Regions from separate parts of the Homo sapiens genome. Here region 2 is linked to region 1. Evidence: promoter capture Hi-C in 16 types of primary human blood cells and fetal thymus (Javierre and others, 2016). All regions are on one chromosome and are shown on one strand. Each heading gives the region's core, a stretch centred on a gene start or on the middle of the fragment in contact. The rest is flanking DNA. Distances are from core to core; before and after follow the strand shown. Region 1 holds the start of MARVELD2 (MARVEL domain containing 2). Region 2 overlaps OCLN (occludin).

Evidence for each region. Contacts are between HindIII fragments. The CHiCAGO score rates a contact against its expected background, and 5 or more counts as called.
Region 2: a fragment that was not itself captured here is called in contact with the fragment with the promoter of MARVELD2 in region 1 in 1 of 17 cell types (neutrophils); the score reaches 5.3 in neutrophils.

The regions. Positions count from the first base shown.
Region 1 is chr5:69,413,466-69,416,441 of GRCh38, forward strand. MARVELD2 (MARVEL domain containing 2) reads left to right here and starts at 1,651. Exons shown (of 7, transcript NM_001038603.3): 1 at 1,651-1,705. It overlaps RAD17 (RAD17 checkpoint clamp loader component), which reads left to right. Exons shown (of 19, transcript NM_133338.3): 19 at 566-1,336. The coding sequence ends at 827. RefSeq lists enhancers at 1,428-2,311, 2,312-2,976. The HindIII fragment of the contact is 19,290 bases long and covers 1-2,976 here.
Region 2 is chr5:69,498,047-69,501,223 of GRCh38, forward strand. The region is part of intron 1 of OCLN (occludin); the gene reads left to right. Among named protein-coding and RNA genes, the nearest start is that of OCLN, 6.8 kb to the left of the region's middle. RefSeq lists an enhancer at 1,736-2,285. The HindIII fragment of the contact is 5,611 bases long and covers 1-3,177 here.

The sequences.
Region 1 (2,976 bases), core at 401-2,900:
TTACTGAAGACATTATTTCTTTTTATTTTTAGGTGTTTTTGTTGTTGTGGTTTGGTTTGGTTTTTTTGTTTGTTTGTTTTTTGTTTGGAGACAGAGTCTTGCTCTGTCGTACAGGCTGGAGTTCAGTGGCACGAGCTTGGCTCACTGCAGCTTCTGCCTCCTGGGTTCAAACAATTCTCCTGCCTCAGCCTCCTGAGTAGCTGGGATTACAGATGCGTGCCACCACGCCTGGCTAATTTTTCTATTTTCAATAGAGATGGGTTTTTGCCATGTTGGCCAGGCTGGTCTTGAACTCCTGGCCTCAAGTGATCTGCCTGCCTTGGCCTCCCACAGTGCAGATAGTACAGGCATGAGCCATCGTGTTCAGCTCCTTTTTGTATTTTAAGTTGTAGGAACTTATTCAGTTTGTCATTTACCTTGTAGTTTTGTTTTTATAGTTAAAGGGACTAGCTAAACAGCACAATGTAGGTAAATGAAAGATGGCTTCATAATCATCACACTCATGGTGTAATTTAAAAATCTTCTCCTTTGGTTCTTATTAATGCCTGCACTGTGAATCTGACAGATTGAAAATGGAAGCCCTGACTGACAGGGAACATGGAATGATAGACCCTGACAGCGGAGATGAAGCCCAGCTTAATGGAGGACATTCTGCAGAGGAATCTCTGGGTGAACCCACTCAAGCCACTGTGCCGGAAACCTGGTCTCTTCCTTTGAGTCAGAATAGTGCCAGTGAACTGCCTGCTAGCCAGCCCCAGCCCTTTTCAGCCCAAGGAGACATGGAAGAAAACATAATAATAGAAGACTACGAGAGTGATGGGACATAGAAGCCAGCCTGCTAATCAGATTGCTACTTCACAGCTTCATTTTTGTTTCATTCAGTGGTACTTCAGCAGAGTTAATATGCTTTTCTGATGAATTACACAACAGTTTGTTAATTCTTCATTCTTGTAGTATTTCATCACAAGAAACCTACTCTTCTGTCATCTTGAAGTAAATAGAAGATCAAGCCTTCAAATCTCTTAATTTTTTCGGTATTTATTAAATCTGTGAGTGGTTTAAGGAGCGGTCAGTGTGTATAAAGTGTGTTTGAACATTATGCCAAATATCAAGATGTGAAGGACTAATTCAGGATGCAAAAACGTTATTGGGGGGTTGTAAATATCAACTATTCAACAGTTTAGGATGCAATTACGAGTGTAAACTGTGTGCCTTATTTACACTTTATTGTCTCCCGCTTCTCAGATAGTTTTGATGTGTTGTACAGTGGAATATCTTAGATACTTTTTGGAAAGTATTTACATAAGTTATATCACAATTAAAATGTTGAATTTAATTTTGTTTCTCCTGTCTTTTAACATTATCTAGCACGCACTCGCTGCCATGGGTCCTTAAGCACAGTGCACCAATCTCCCTCCCCCAGTGTCAAACTTTTCAAAAGATAGGGAAGAGGATGGCAACGTTGCGATGAGAACTGTAAACTCTTTCCAAAAGAGCCCAGTGTGTGGTCATTGCCGCGACGTGCCGGCTGGTGGCACCGAGCAGCCTGGGCCCAGAGCGGTTGTCGGGCCGACAGATCCGGGCGGGGCAAAGCCGGGCGGGGAAAGCTGGGCTCGTCCCGTCCCGGCCCCGCCCCCACCCCGGGAGCCCGATACCGGTTTCAGAGTCCTGGGCAGCGTGCGCGCTCTTCCTGGCGGCTGCGCAGGTAAGTGGGACCGGGGTGGGGCCACGTGACCGGGAGAGGAGGGCCCGGCGGCCCCCGGCCCAGGTGTGCTGCGACGGACGGCTGCCCGCGCTCGGCGCTCAGCCTGCCATAGCCCGCGGGGGAGGCCGGAGCCAGGGATCCGGGGAGGCCCGCGTCCCGCCAGGTTTCGCTCTGCGGACGCAGGTGCGGCCGAGCCGCCGTCCTTCCGGGCGCGGGGCGGGGCGCGCACCTCGGGGCGATCTCGGTGCTCCTTACCTGGGAGGTCTCCCGGCTTAGTTTCGGCCTCGTTGGGTCGGAATCTCCAAAGACAGTGGGTTTCAGCCAGAAACGCGAAGACGAACGCCTAGCCGGCGCGGGCAGAACCGAGGACACAATGAGATTTGTGGGACCGGGCGCCCAGAGGCTGGCGCGGGGGAGACCCCACAGCTAAAATGCTCGGTACCCCCGGGCAGTCGTGGGTTAGTTAGAACCGCAGAGCCTTTCCCGACCCCTCGGAAGCGCAGAAGTATCCGAAATCTACCCGTTTCTTGGGTCCAGCAAAACTTTTAAGCCAGGTAAACCGGTGGTTCTGTTTGTGTAAAGGTGACCAGGCATGATTCCTGTGACACTTTGCTGGGGCAGCCATTTCTCCTGCCATTGCCGCGGCTTTCCAAGATGAGTGTCCAAGAGTGGAGTAAGGGTCCGGGGCCTGAGCAGGACAAAGACACACGCTGCCGCGACCTGCGGGACCAGAACGAACTCTCAGTGACATCTTGAAAGACATTAGGGGTATCCAGATATTTAAGATGTAATGAAATACAGCTAACCATTCCCTTCTAAAAATCACATTATCTTGCTTTTCCACAACTCTTTAATAATTGCTTGTTTTTTCTTTAAAAATGGATAGGGTGGTTTGATTCAAATAAGCCACTTCACAGGTGAAGAGTTAAATCCATTACAGTGAATCGTATTTTTACCAGTGAGTTGAATTAAGCATAGCGTATCCTGTAAATGCTGTGTAAAACTTGCTAAAATCATTTGTTGTGCTTTTGCTTCTACATTTCTTAGGAATGTGTTTCAAAAACTAGAGTCGTAATAGCATTTCTAGAACTTACACTTTTTTAGAGAAAGAAAGAGAAAGGTACAAAAATAACTGATTGTTATAATATACAGAGCCGCTTTGCATTGGGCACCCTGCTGGGGCCATCACAGTTAATCCTCTAAGGTCGGAGTGCCCTATTAGAAGACCCTGGGTTTCCACCGCATTCCCTTGTCTCCAGTCTGTACATACC
Region 2 (3,177 bases), core at 629-3,128, 85 kb after region 1:
GCGTGAACCCGGGAGGCGGAGCTTGCAGTGAGCCGAGATCCCGCCACTGCACTCCAGCCTGGGCGACAGAGCGAGACTCCGTCTCAAAAAAAAAAAAGAACGATTATTAAATTAGTTCTCCTCTATACTGTACTATGGAATTGACTTTTTAAAAATTCAGTTTATGGCTGGGCATGGTGGCTCATGCCTGTAATCCCAGCACTTTGGGAGGCTGAGGTGGGTGGATCACCTGAGGTCAGGAGTTTGACACCAGCTTGGTTAACATGGTGAAACCCCGTTTCTACTAAAAATGCAAAAATTAGCCTGGCCTGGTGGCATGTGCCAGTAATCTCAGCTACTCAGGAGGCTGAGGTGGGAGAATTGCTTGAACCTGGGAGGTGGAGGTTGCATTGAGCCGAGATCACGCCATTGCATTCCAGGCTGGATGACAGAGCAAGACTCCTGTCTCAAAAAAAAAAAAAATCAGTTTACATTTTAAAAATGACTCATTTATGCCACCAATATAGTCACCCTTCAGTATCTGTGAGAGGTTGCTTCCAGGACCCCCATGATACTAAAATCTGAGGATGCTGAAGTCCTTGTTATAAAATAGCTTTGTATTTGCATATGGCCTAAATGCTCTTGTATACTTTTTTTTTTAATTGTTTTTTTGAGACAGAATCTCACTCCATCATCTAGGCTGGAGTGCAGTGATGCAATTTTGGCCCACTGCAAACTCTGCCTCCTGGGCTCAAGCGATTCTCCTGCCTCAGCCTCCTGAGTAGCTGGGATTACAGGCACCCGGCACAATCCCAGTTAATTTTTGTATTTTTAGTAGAGACAGGGTTTCACCATGTTGGCCAGGCTGGTCTCGAACTCCTGACCTCAAGTGATCCGCCCGTCTTGGGCTCCCAAAGAGCTGGAATTACAGGTGTGAGCCACTGCACCCAGACCTCTTGTAGACTTTAAATAATCTCTAGTTATAATACCGTATACAATGTAAATACTATGTAGAATTGTGATATTGTAGTTTTAAAAATCTATTTTTTGTTTTATTGTTTATTATTTTTTTAGACAGGGTATTACTGTTACTCAGGCTGGAGTATAGTGGCATGATCACTCCAGCCTCAACTTCCTCTGCTCAAGAGATCCTCCCATCTCAGTCTCTTGAGTAGCTGGAACTTACAGGGATGTGCCACCATGCCTGGCTAATTTTAAGAAAAATTTTTTGTGGAGATGGGGTCTTACTATGTTGCTGTGGTCAGTCTTGGACTCCTGGGTTCAAGTGATCTTCCTGCTTCAGCTTCCTAGAGTGTTGGGATTACAGGTGTGAGCCACTGTACCTGCCCTGTAATTTTTAATTTTTTTTTCCCCTGAATATTTTCTGTCTGAGGTTGGTTGAATCAGAATTTAAAACCCATGGATGTGGAGGGTCAGCTGTATTTGAAAATGGATACAATATACCTAAGTGCCTAAGCACTGAAATTTCTTACTTTCAGGATAACCACCTTATGATGAATGCAGTTGCCCATTTTCTTGAAGACTTTTTCTTGTGGTTTTTTTCTTTCTTTTTTTTTTGAGCCGGAGTCTCGCTCCGTCGCCAGGCTGGAGTGCAGTGGCGTGACCTCAGCTCACTGCAACCTCCTCCTCCTGGATTCAAGCGATTCTCCTGCCTCAGCCTCCTGAGTAGCTGGGGCTACAGGCGCGCGCCACCAAGCCCAGCTAATTTTTGTATTTTTTTAGTAGAGACAGGGTTTCACTATGTTGACCAGGATGGTCTTGATCTCTTGACCTCGTGATCCACCCGCCTCGGCCTCCCAAAGTGCTGGGATCACAGGCGTGAACCACTGCGCCCAGCTCTTTAAGACTTTTTCTTATCCCAGTGCAGAGGTCAGGATTATTCCCGCATTTGAGTGCACTTAGAGGAGATAAGGAATTTGTCTCAGATTGCGAGCCAGTAAATGGGGGCTGTTAAAACCACTAGGTTGTTTCAAACTCATCATTCTGACATTACAGAGATCTTGCTTAGTGTTGATGGCCCTAGCCAATGGGTTAGTTATCCTTTCCAGTGTGTTTGGTCAGCTGCAAATCTGGATAAGCGTGTCTCCTCCACTTTGTCTGTGTTTACCAGTGGAGACCTCCCACCAGGTGGACATAAATGGTTCATTCTTTTGTGCTAATTGGGTGCCGTAATCCAGCCCCTTGGGAATCTGCCCACCCACACAAGGATGTGCTCAAGATTTTCAGGATTCTTTCTCTCTGCATTCCCTGAAGAGGAAATAATAAAGGAGAAAATAAAATCCACCAGTTTGGTAACCTTCCCAGAAAAGGAAATGAAGTTGGTGTGGCATGACTTGTTCTTAACGAGCTTTCTTTTCTTTTTTTTTTTTTTGAGACGGAGTTTTGCTCTTTTTGCCCAGGCTGGAGTGCAATGGCGCAATACTGGCTCACTGCGAACTCCGCCTCCCAGGTTCAAGCAATTCTGCTACCTCAGCCTCCCAAGTAGCTGGGTTTACAGGCATGCACCACCACGCCCCTCTAATTTTTTGTATTTTTAGTAGAGATAGGGTTTCACCACATTGGTCAGCTGGTCTTGAACTCCAGACCTCATGTGATCCACCTGCCTCGGCCTCCCAAAGTGCTGGGATTACAGGCATGAGCCACATGATTTGGTTCACAATTTAAAATCCGTGCTTTTGGGGAGACGTGACAACTCTGAATCCTGGAAATAGCAGTTTGAAAAGGGATCTTGTTTGAATTTTTGACAACTTAAGACTGAGTCTGGATTAATTTAGAGTTTCCAAAACTACCACTGAACCTAGAATTTGGGGATATTTGACATTCAGCTTCAGAACTAGGATCCCACATTTAATAGTGCTTAACTTCAGATTTTCTGTTTTACTTTTTTTTTTTAAAGGAGTCTTGCTCTGTCACCCACGCTGGAGTGCAGTGGCACAATCTTGGCTCACTGCAACCTCCACCTCGGGCTCAAGCGATTCTCATGCCTCAGTTTCTCAAGTAGCTGGGATTACAGGCACGTGCCACCATGCCCAGCTAATTTTTGTATTTTTAGTAGAGACGGGGTTTTGCCATGATGGCCAGGCTGGTCTCGAACTCCTGACCTAGGGTGATCCACCTGTCTCCACCTCCCAAGTGCTGGAATTACAGGTGTGAGCCACCTCACCTGGCCTAAATTCA